Linked DNA regions of Homo sapiens: all the other regions are linked to region 2. Evidence: promoter capture Hi-C in 16 types of primary human blood cells and fetal thymus (Javierre and others, 2016). All regions are on one chromosome and are shown on one strand. Each heading gives the region's core, a stretch centred on a gene start or on the middle of the fragment in contact. The rest is flanking DNA. Distances are from core to core; before and after follow the strand shown.

Region 1 (2,700 bases), core at 121-2,620, 180 kb before region 2:
AGAAGGACTCTTGTGATTACATCAAGCCTACTCTGATAATCCAGGATAATCTCCCAATCTCAAGAGCCTTAATTTAATCACATCTACAAAGTCTCTTTTGCCATATAATAAAACATGGACAGGTTCCAGGGATTAGAATGTGGACATCCTGGGGGGCCATTATTCAGCCTGCAACAGAGGGTGACTTTATTTTCACAAGCATGTAAGGAAAACTCTGAGCTGAGACTGCAGTTTCTCTACTTCTTCCTTACATCATCTGTGTAACTCGGCTCATGCTGCTCTAGAAGAGACCATCTCCCCTGCTCCATCATATCTGCAGCCCTGGCTGCTGCAGGGAAAGGCACTGCCTTTCTTCTCCAGGTGTCTTTTGTTCTTCTTCCGCCCTGGCCCCTTGCTGCCATGCAGGACTCTGCTGGGAGTGACGTGGGTCTCTTTCCCTGAGAGAGCTGAAGATCTGCAAGGAGACCTTCTCCCTGCCTTTTGCTTCGCATTTTGAAGGGAGGGAGGAGACTAGCCAGAACCACTGACCAGGGGAAGCACTCTTATCCTCTTAGAAAGGACCTTAGGAATCATCTATCCCCTCCACCCCATCCCTGCCTTGCCACGAGGATTAATTGCTCTCTAAGTGCCTTGGCCAATGTTGACTTTCAGCCTAAGCTTGACCTCTCAAGCAAGTTGTTTCCTTCCTAACAATAGTATTTCAAGTGAATTCATTAAAACTTCTTAGTTGCAAGTAATAGAAACTAACTTAAATTAACTCAAGCAAAAAACAAACAAAACAAAACAAAAACAAAAAACAAACCAAGGAGTGGTCAGAAATCCACTCCTCGGGGGAATTTGATCTCTTGCTTTTCTTGGCAACTTGAGGACCCTTTTCCTAGGAAAGGGGGACTTTCCCTGTCCCCCTCTGACTTCCAGCACATAATCAGTGATTGTGACTCCAGTCCAGGTCCACTCAATACCCACTTATCATATGTGCTGCATTACAACCAACAGATGAAGAGGCACAGATGGATGCCTCTTTCATCTGGTGAACTGATAGAAGTGCTGTGATGAACCTCCACAGTAGAAGAAAAGAAAAGGATGAAAGACACATGTTGCTAATTGGCCTTAAACCTCCTCTGATGGGAACAGGAGGCAGAAGCTGGTCATGAGGGTAAGTTGATAAGAGAGGAGCCTAACCAGGGTTCTAATGAATGGCCAAGATATTGGGATATAAGCTAGAAACTCTAATGTTGATATGTTTCTTTTTTTCTTTTTTTATTTTTTTGAGACGGAGTCTCACTCTGTCACCAGGCTGGAGTACAGTGGTGCAATCTCAGCTCACTGCAACCTCTGCCTCCCGGGTTCAAGCGATTCTCCTGCCTCAGCCTCCCAAGTAGTTGGGACTACAGGCACGTGCCACCACACCCAGCTAAGTTTTGTATTTTTAGTAGAAACGGGGTTTCACCATGTTGTCCAGGATGGTCTCCATCTCTTGACCTCGTGATCCTCCCACCTCAGCCTCCCAGAGTGCTGGGATTACAGGCGTGAGCCACCGCGCCCAGCCATGTCGTTATGTTTCCTACACACATGTGTGTGTATGCATATGTACCCATATAGACATACTTAACATTACACGATGTACTATGCTAGTGTTGGAGATACAGAAATGACTTTATGCCTACCCTAAAGGCTTCCCTAAAAGACAAAGAATTGTGGGACAGTTTGATAAATGTCATAAGAGATATTAGTAAGTGCTAAAAATAGCACAAAGAGAGGCATGATTTCCTCTGCTTGGGTGTGTCCAGGAAACCTCTATCGAGAAGGGAACATTTGCATGGATCTTAATAGGAATTTAAAGATCACTGGGAGAAGTGTGTGTGTATGAGTGAGTGAGTGTGCGGCAGGAAGGGGTGATGAGAATGGAGAAAGATGTTCCAAAAAGGAGGCGTTATATGTCCACAGGCCTTGATGTGAAGCGGCATTGACGTTTAGACTAGAGTGTAGATAGTTCCATGTGGCTGTCAAGATGGGGCCTTGGGTAGGGAATAAGAGAGTGGACAGTTGAGCACAGGCTGAGTCTCAAGAGACATAAGCTTCTAATTTATCTTGTAAGTAAACAGACATCTTGGAAAGAATGGAAGCAGAGCGTGACAAGATCAGATCTGGACTTTAGAAAGGAGGAGGACTCTAACAGTGTGGAGGATGAATTGAAGGAAGGACAACTAGGGGCAGCCAGATTTGTTGAGAAGCAGAGGCCAAGACAAGATTAGACCTGCAGAGGCATTGTGGGAAACACCACACCTGTGAAGGATGAAGAGCGGGCAGAAGGAGTGGTCAGGAGAGACTTCAGACTGCAGTGCAGGTCAGACACCTGGGAAAGGAGAGCAGGCTGGGAAGAGGATCAGGTAGGATGATCCTCAAACTGTGGTGCAGCTCCAGGATGTCCCCGCCAGGCTTAGTGTCCCAGAACAGAGCTCGCCTCTTAGCGAGGCCTCACATCAGGCACAGTGGCCTGTTTCTAGCCCTGTTTCTGGCACCCTCTGTGCTCAGTCATTGGCTGGGAGCAGCATGGGGCAGTGTGAACACCCAACACAACCAAAATATAGCAGCAGGAGGCTGGAGGCTTCTTGCACCAGGTTCTCTTGAAGGGAGACCTGAGCACACTCCCTGACAGCACAGAGATGCCTGCAGCAGCACAGTCTGCTCTAAGGCCAG
Region 2 (2,700 bases), core at 117-2,616:
TTTGCTGTCTGTCATCCTCGTCCTGGGTTCCAAGCTGGAACACTCTCAGACTGTATCTAGACAAGTCCAAGGGCTGTTCCTTTTACAAGGTAGTGCCGGTAGTGCCATTTGCCCCTGGGAGTCTTCTGCCTGGAGTATATCCAGGCATTAGGCTATCCTGTCCCCGCCTCAGTGTGAGCATTAGACCTTTTCATTTGTCCAAATGGCCATTCATAGAACACACGAGTAGCATGCTATGCTGGAGAAGGAACATTGAGTGGAAGGGGCATTTTCCTCACAGGGTCAAATTCTCACAAACTCTGTCCAGGAAGAGGTTATATTTAGGAACAGTTTTGCTTTTCTAGTTCAAGGAATACAAATAGCAAGCAAGCTATTGGGACCAAGAATTAAACAAAAAGTAGGTCCACTTGGAAACTGTAAAGTGAAACAAAATATATGCCAAATTATTTCTTTTAGGTATAAGGGGGGTGACACTGGCTGAGACTGAGCTGGGTCTGGGGGAGCCCAGTGACCCTCTGCGTGCAATCCTCTACCCTTAGACCAGCTCTCTTAGTTACAAGTAGCCTGCATGAGAAGAAATGGAGAGAAGAGAGAGAGAGACATGGATCAGACAATGGAGTTGATTCTTCAAACCAGCCCCATGGATCTGAAACAGCTCCCAACAGAGAGAAGATGTAGGCGGAAGAGAGACAGTCAATTTGAAAAGGGCTTTGGTTACTCAGAGCACAGGCCTTTCAACCAGGTGAGAGGTCTGGCCATTGTTACCTGGTTCTAAGAAAATGCTGAGGCTCCATAAAAATATGTCACCCTGTAAAATTCCACCTCCCATTGCTGAGCAAAATGCCTGGGACTGTTTCCCCTCATTTCCCTGACTCCTTCCCTGTTGCCCCCAGCAGCCTCCTTCCCTCCTGCAACCTCCATTTCCTTTTGAGACAGCTCTGATTAGTATTTTAACCTGATGTCACAAGGTAGAAATGTCATTGGGAAGTTAGGGGACTTTGTAATGTGATTTTCTGCCTCCCTAATTTATCTCTGACATATCAAAGGGCTGCGCTGCCAAGGACCCAGGACTACGGGGTAGGAAACACTGAGGAGTTTCTCCTACCCCAGTGCCCATCTCTCCCAAGCATGCCCAGGTGCACACACCTGTCTTGAGCTCCAGCCACAAACCCACTGGAATTGGGAAAGGTAAGATGAGGAACTTGGTGTCTCAGGGATGACTTACGGTCCTTAGTGCTCCAAGAGGGGATGCCCATGCTCGTTGACTTACCAAAGAGCAGCACAGCCGTCCAGAGCAGCATGGGGCCTGTTCTGGCACAGCGGAGGGAACACAGGTCAGAAACAGGTCAGGGCGAAGCCGGCAGAGAGCAACCAGGCCTCAGGACCGAAGGTGGGTGGGTGGCCTGAGCTGGGTGGTGCTATAGCTTGATAGCCAAAATAGGAAGTGGAAAAGAAACTTACAAAGCTCTAATTGATATTTCCTCTTTGGTTGAAGAAGTATTACATGAATAAATTTTCCTGAACACTAAGTATGAAGGAGTCGGTAAATCACTAATAAATCCCTGACATTTTCTGCAGCTTCAACAAGCCTATGCCAGGGAACTAGGATGGAACATGGTTATGGGACACCTCCATTAGAAAGGTCCAGAGACTGCCCGAATTTGCTTGGCTTCAGCGTCATTCAGCCTGGGAGACAGCGCAGCACTGTAAAACTAAGATCATCTACCCCTTGACCACCGAGTGACCTCCCAGCTTCCAAGGAGCTCCTGTCTCCAGAGGTAAATGTGTGTGGATGCTGCAATGCGATGGAGAAGTGGAGCCCTGAGGATGCTTCACAGGATCCTCAGTTCAGGAGGGAATCAGACATCGATGAGTCTGGAGTAGAACACAGATGGAGCTTCGGCATCTGAGGCTTTTAAGACTGTCAGTATGATTTTGAGAACTATTCCTTAAAAGACACCATTAAGAGAAGGAACAGGCAAGCTGTGGTGTGATGAGATAGTTTAAATACATGTAGCTGACAAAGGGCCCACAGAAGAAATATAAGAATTTCTGCAAGTCAGTAAGAAAAGGACAGACAACATACTAGAAAAATGGGCAAAAATAATTGGATAGGTACTTCACAGAAGCAGATATCCACGTGTCAAATCAACATAGCAAAAGGAGCTAGACATCATAAATCACCGTGGAAATGCAAATTTAAACCATAATAAGATACCACTACACCTTCCATAAGAATAAGGGAGTGATACCAGCTGAGACTGAGCTGGGTCTGGGGGAGCCCGTGACCCTCCCCATGCAATCCTCTACTGAGTATTGGTGAGGATGTGAAGAAACTAGAACTCTTGTACACCACTAGTGGGAATATAAATTGGTACAGTCACTAGAAAATGGCTTGGCAGAATCTACCAAAACTAAACACAGGGATCCCTGATGGCTCAGCATTTTCACTCCTGGGTAAATGTCAAACAGAAATGTATACATATAAGCCTGAAAAAACATATACAAGAGTGCTCATAGCAGCATCATTTGTAATAGATAAAAACTGGAAATTATTCAATGTTCCCTCAACAGAAAAAGAGGTCACACATTCTCATCTCCTCTGTGGACAGAACATGGGAGTTCACGGTGAAACACAGAGTCAGGCAAAATACTAGGAAGCATTTTCATTTTCTTGTTTCTTTTCTTTCTTTTTTCTTT
Region 3 (2,700 bases), core at 163-2,662, 140 kb before region 2:
ACTTTGCTGATTAGGAACACCTGTGCTTAACGATGCCAAGCAGACATCTCTGAGGTCACACCATCTTCTTTGTGCAGGGCTATGGAGCAGCTCAGGTCCTTTCTTCCCAAGGCCTGCTGAAATATTAGGTATACACCAGGAAGACAGAACCAATAAGATAGATAGATACAGATATAGAAATATGAGATGGGATTTATTAGGGGAATTGGCTTACATGATGGTGGAGGCCAAGTCCTACAACATGCACAAAGAAGGCCCTGGGATGGCAAAAGTGTGGCTCAGTCCAACTCCAAAAGCCTCACAACCAGGGAGGCCAATGGTATAACTCACAGTCCCAAGTCTGGAGAGCCTGGAGTTTTGATGTTCAAAGGCAAGAGGAGGAGAATACCCCAGCTCTGAGAGACAGAGAGAGAGACAGAGAGAGAAAAGAAGAAGAAGGAGAAGGAGGAGGAGGAGGAGGAGGAGGAGGAGGAAAAGCAGCAGCAGAGGAGGAGGAGGAGAAGGAGGAGGAGGAGGAAAGAGGAAAGAAGAAAGCAGGAGAAGGAGAAGAAGGAGGAAGAAGAGGAGGAGGAGGAGGAGGGGGAGAGAGAGAATATTTTCTGATATCCTTGTCAGCAATTTGAAAATATGGGGGCTGCCTGATACTTAGGTTAGGTGGAATCCTCGTTGGTTGAATAAGCTTTCCCAGAGAGTAATGACTATGAATCAAGGACAACCTAGAGGAAAGTCTTTTGTTTTGAACCTCAGGGACTATTTTTTAAATCAGCTTTCACTCCTGGCACAGTGAGGGAACAAGTTATAGGGCTAGGTTCCTTTTCTTAACAAAAAATCTCCAATATACATATAAATCAGACAAAAAATGGCAATAACAATAAAAGTCACAAAATAAGTTTCCAGAAAAAAAAGGCCATATCATAAACTTTTAAAAATTGAAAACCATTTTAAATGTCATTTAACAGAAAGTTATTTTAATGTCTAAATGAGATTAGTTTATCCTCAAGAAACCACTGGAGACAGCAGTTTAGATCAAAGGTGTGGCCAATTCTAACAGCGGGGAGGGAGATCCTTCCCAATGATTGGTAAAGATCCAAAGACTAAAAAACACTTGGCTCGGCCGGGGGCAGTGGCTCACACCTGTAATCCCAGCATTTTGGGAGGCCGAGGTGGGTGGATCATGAGGTCAGGAGTTCAAGACCAGCCTGGTCAAGATGGTGAAACCCCATCTCTACTAAAAATACAAAAATTAGCCAGGCATGGTGGTGGCCGCCTGTAATCACAGCTGCTTGGGAGGCTGAAGCAGGAGAATCGCTTGAACCCGGGAGGTGGAGGTTGCAGTGAGCCGAGATTGCACCACTGCACTCCAGCCTGGGCGATAGAGTGAGACTCTGTCAAAACAAAAAAACAAACAAACAAAAAACCCGCTTCACTCTTTTACCATTTCTTCTAGCCTTGCTTCCATGCTGCATTCATTAACATGTTTCCATTATAGTCTTATCAATAGATCAGGGTATTATGTTGAAATGCATTGTTGAAAAGCTGCTACTTTGGGACTATTTGCAGGAGGGATGGTGGGAGAGACTGGCCCACTGCTCCTGCCTCTTCCCTTCCATCTCAGTCACCCAAAAGCACTAAAACCTTTACACCTGGAAGAACTGTCCAGCAGGCAGAGCTTACTAAGGATGGAATGGGTACAACAGTAGTGCTGAGCTTCCTGGCCCAGGATGTAATGAGATAGGGGCTTGGATGACTACATGGAGAAATGATGTGCCAGGGATTCTGGGGCCAAGTAGTGCTTAGGCCCATCCTGGAGGTTCTCTCATGATGCTGCAGCAGTGATTCTGTGAGTCTGATGCCTGGTGCACTCAGTTTGAGTCTTAGTACTTCGGATTGGGATGAGATCAGCACGTTGCTTTCATGGAAGGCTTCCAAGGGAGCCAACTGAATGGGAAGGACCTGGACAGGCAATGTTGCTTAAGCCGACCCAGCATCCCTACAGCATCACCAGGCTGAGGAGGTGGAATCTCTGAGGGGCAAGATATGCAAGATATCTTTGTGTCTGAGGGCGAAGCCTCCAAGGGAGTAGGTTTGATGAAGTTTGGGTTGGGTCTCAATCCAGCTCTGCCATAACCTAGTTGGGAAAGCTTGGGCCAAGTTACTTCATCTCCCTGAGCCTCAGTTTTCTCATTAGTCAAAGGGAGCTCTACTTACTTCGCAGGGTTTCTGTGAAGGTTACACAAGAGTTATAAAGCATCTAGTCCAGGGTCTGGCACCCTGCATGGGTCCAGTAAGTGATCTTGTATTTCATTCCTCCCTTTCAATCTCCCGTGTCAGGATATCTGTCGTTTCTCCCCTCTGGGCCTGTTTCTCTGGGTCGTTGGTGCCAGAGCTGCCTTGGGAGCTGACTTGGCAACCCCACGCTCAGAGCACAGCCTTCCTCAGCTGCACACGGTGGGAGGCGCCTGGGCAAGATTTGGGAGCTCGCCAATGCAGACAGGTATTTCCAGTCCTGCTAGAGAAGCAATGGGTGGAGGTAGAAATGGGGATGGGGGAGGAGATCGGATGAGCCCGGGACCTGGGTGGATCCCCTGGGAGGAGGGCGGGGAGTCATGCTCCCCGCCTGGTTCTCCTACCCCCAGGCTCAGATTTCAACCCTCGCTGCCGCCTCTGTGGCGCGCCCGTTCGGGGAGCGGAGAGGGTCGC
Region 4 (2,754 bases), core at 145-2,644, 240 kb before region 2:
ATGCTCAAGTAAAACTAGATTCACAGGGCACAGATTCCCCAGAAAGTTAACACAATCCCACCATGAGGGATGGGTAAATTCTCAGATTTCCAAACTGCTGTACAGAGCCTCTGAGAATTGGTGATGCTTTGTTAAGGTTTGGGCAGGAGCAGAACTCTGTGGCTGGCAGCCACTATTCTCAGTTACACCTCCCAGTGCCCTTCTGAAAAGTGCCAGCTATTTCATTAGGCAATGCTGGAAGGAAATGAAATTATACCTTCTGATCAAATAACCATGGCTTCCCTCAGCCATTCCTGAGACTTGGTATAAAATGAAGAAATCAGTGTCATCTCTACTCTCCTCTGCCATGAGGCCATTTTCAGACAAGTTAAAAAGTAGACTTTAAGAGATCAAACTCAGCCTATTCCTTGTTCCCTGGTGGGGTCTGTGGTAAGGGTCAGGGAAGGGCATATAGGCACCAGAGCTTTATCCAAAGCCCCAAATCCCTAGAGTGCTTTCTGGTCTCACTTTGGTACCAAGGAAGCCTCACATAGTGGTACTGCATAGTCCCACTATAAGTCAAGTTGCAGTTTAAGGTGGTCTCAGCCAATTGTTACAAGCTACAGAATATATACATGCATCTATGTACAGAGCCTTGCAGAGAAACACAAAATTTTGAGGCTAGACCCATGATCACCACCAACTATAATTGCACAAGGTCTTGTTATATTGATCTCTCCTCGAACTCAACTAACTATATCTTGAAAACAAAGACCCTTCGGTGTCCATCTACAGTAAACCCCACCATTACCTTCTAGTTGGCATAAAAACAAGAACCACAAAAACTTGAAAAATCTGAAACAGAGAACAGAAGGCCAAGAGCCAGCTTCTGCGTTCTCAACTTTATTCAACATTAGACTTACCTTATTTCTTTCAGTGTGTAGGGACAAGATGTACTGCTGTGTGTGTGTGTGTGTGTGTGTGTGTGTGTGTGTGTGTGTGTGTGTGTGTCTATACCTTCCTATCCATTGCCAAGTTAACCTCCATCTGGTTTATTTGGCCATGCTATGCTTTCTTCCCATTCCCCTGCTGTCTATTCTAAGCCCCCAGACTCAAGCCTCTAGACTCTTGGATGAAACAGTGAGAAGAAAACATTTTCTGACTTACCCTTTTGGAATCTCCTCCATTATTACCCAGGCTTTGCTTTAAGTTGCACTTTAAATCACACTGTCCTATTAATGCGATCTGGCATCTTCTCCCACAAGCCCCCTACAGGGAACAACTACCCCCTACCTTAACTCTAAATGGTTCTTTAGACTATAGTCTGTCTCCTCTGACCTGAAATCCTCTTTTAGGCAATAGGCCGAGCTTTAGAAGCAGCCAGGTCTGGTGAGAAATGGGCCCCCATACCAACTGTGGACTTGGAATATCAGCAGAGTAGTAGGCACAGTTGTAAAAAGGGGAGATTTCGGTAGGCACAGGTGTAAAAAGGGGAGATTTCAGAAGACGGGCGAAACAACTGATGGGGGAAGATACCTGGGGTGAGAAGATGAGAAAGAAATGATGCTGAGGGACCTAGTGAAATCAATGAAACTCTTGAGTCTTGCTTAGGCTCGCAAACAAGAAGTGGGGAGGCTTGGGAAATTAGGATATGACATATATGAAAGGTTTATCTAAGAAGAAAGAAACAGAGATAATATATATATAGAAAGATGTATATAGATGTATATATGCCCAAATATATTGAATGTACAGAAAGGAAATATTCAGAGACTTTAGCATTGGGGGCAGATATCTTGGCCTGGTTATGGGGTAGGACACCCAGATTTTCAGACTTACAATCAGTGGTCCTGGTTTCAACATGGAAGTGAGATAGCTGATGAAGGATTTCAAGTCTGGAAATGGGAAAGGGAGGGGTAGAAGTTCCTTTTCAGAAATAAAGAGGCATTCATGAAGGCTTTTGTTGAATCCTATGCTACTGATAGGACCAGGAAGAGAGGAACTCGGAGGACAATAGGGAGGGGAAGTCTTGGAAAATCTACCACTTACACTGTGTGTCCCCATCCCCAGCAGCGTCCTGCCACTGTAGCGCCTTTTTAAAATAAATAAAATAAAATAAAGCACCATTTTGTTTCCCTTTCATGAAGTACACTGTATTTCCGTCTTCCACAGGGGTGGGAGCTGCTATTGCTCTAGCCCCTGAAATCAAACTCAGGAGCTGAACACTTTGGTGTATGGGAGGCACTAATGGGAAGCCTCAACCCTGGAATCCAAATGCCAGGACTAATAGCTGTTAGGCTGAAGATCTCCCAAGGTCAAGGCCCAGCCTTTTGTGTGGCTGCAAGCAGCCCAAAGAGAAAGCCATGGATTCCAGAAGAGTTCCAATCCTGGCATTTGGGCATGGAGGGTGATGCTTTGGTTTTGATGCTTCTGAATGAAAATGAGGAGTGGGGTTACCAGCTGCTCTAGGGGATGGTGAAGTTCCATGAGAGGCTTCCGAAATCTCTGCAATGTGCTTCACCCCATTATTCCCCCAACCCCTGTCAGCCTAATAAAATCATCCAGTAGTTTCCCTATAAGGTCTGAGCAGAGAAAGAAAGCCAGTTATACTATTGCTACAAGTCCAGGACACTGTGCCCTCTCCATGGCTGCTGCCCTGGTCCTTTATTCTTGCTAGCTAACCTAGTTCACTTGTACAGTAACACACTACCTTTGCTGGAAAGTTAGCATGGGTCTCCAGGCTCAGTAATGGCCAACTCTACTGATGCAGAAGTA

Evidence for each region. Contacts are between HindIII fragments. The CHiCAGO score rates a contact against its expected background, and 5 or more counts as called.
Region 1: a contact is called between a fragment that was not itself captured here and the fragment with the promoter of FCRL6 in region 2, in 5 of 17 cell types (naive B cells, total B cells, megakaryocytes and 2 more). The highest score is 10.8, in naive B cells.
Region 3: a contact is called between a fragment that was not itself captured here and the fragment with the promoter of FCRL6 in region 2, in 12 of 17 cell types (naive CD4 T cells, total CD4 T cells, non-activated CD4 T cells and 9 more). The highest score is 16.7, in naive CD4 T cells.
Region 4: a fragment that was not itself captured here is called in contact with the fragment with the promoter of FCRL6 in region 2 in 2 of 17 cell types (naive CD4 T cells and megakaryocytes); the score reaches 5.7 in naive CD4 T cells.

Annotation. Positions count from the first base shown.
Region 1 is chr1:159,981,598-159,984,297 of GRCh38, reverse strand. It overlaps a transcript of SLAMF9 not described here. Among named protein-coding and RNA genes, the nearest start is that of LINC01133, 22 kb to the right of the region's middle. The HindIII fragment of the contact is 1,421 bases long and covers 660-2,080 here.
Region 2 is chr1:159,801,026-159,803,725 of GRCh38, reverse strand. It overlaps FCRL6 (Fc receptor like 6), which reads right to left and starts at 1,366. Exons shown (of 10, transcript NM_001004310.3): 1 at 1,271-1,366. The coding sequence starts at 1,301. It overlaps LOC105371464 (a long non-coding RNA gene), which reads left to right. Exons shown (of 3, transcript XR_922195.2): 1 at 1-1,188; 2 at 1,579-1,778. The HindIII fragment of the contact is 5,270 bases long and covers 1-2,700 here.
Region 3 is chr1:159,945,961-159,948,660 of GRCh38, reverse strand. LOC124904438 (a long non-coding RNA gene) reads right to left here. Exons shown (of 3, transcript XR_007066684.1): 2 at 2,209-2,509. Among named protein-coding and RNA genes, the nearest start is that of IGSF9, 1.7 kb to the right of the region's middle. RefSeq lists an enhancer at 2,425-2,700. The HindIII fragment of the contact is 1,462 bases long and covers 682-2,143 here.
Region 4 is chr1:160,037,610-160,040,363 of GRCh38, reverse strand. It overlaps KCNJ10 (potassium inwardly rectifying channel subfamily J member 10), which reads left to right. Exons shown (of 2, transcript NM_002241.5): 2 at 1-2,754. Among named protein-coding and RNA genes, the nearest start is that of PIGM, 7.0 kb to the right of the region's middle. The HindIII fragment of the contact is 3,750 bases long and covers 1-2,754 here.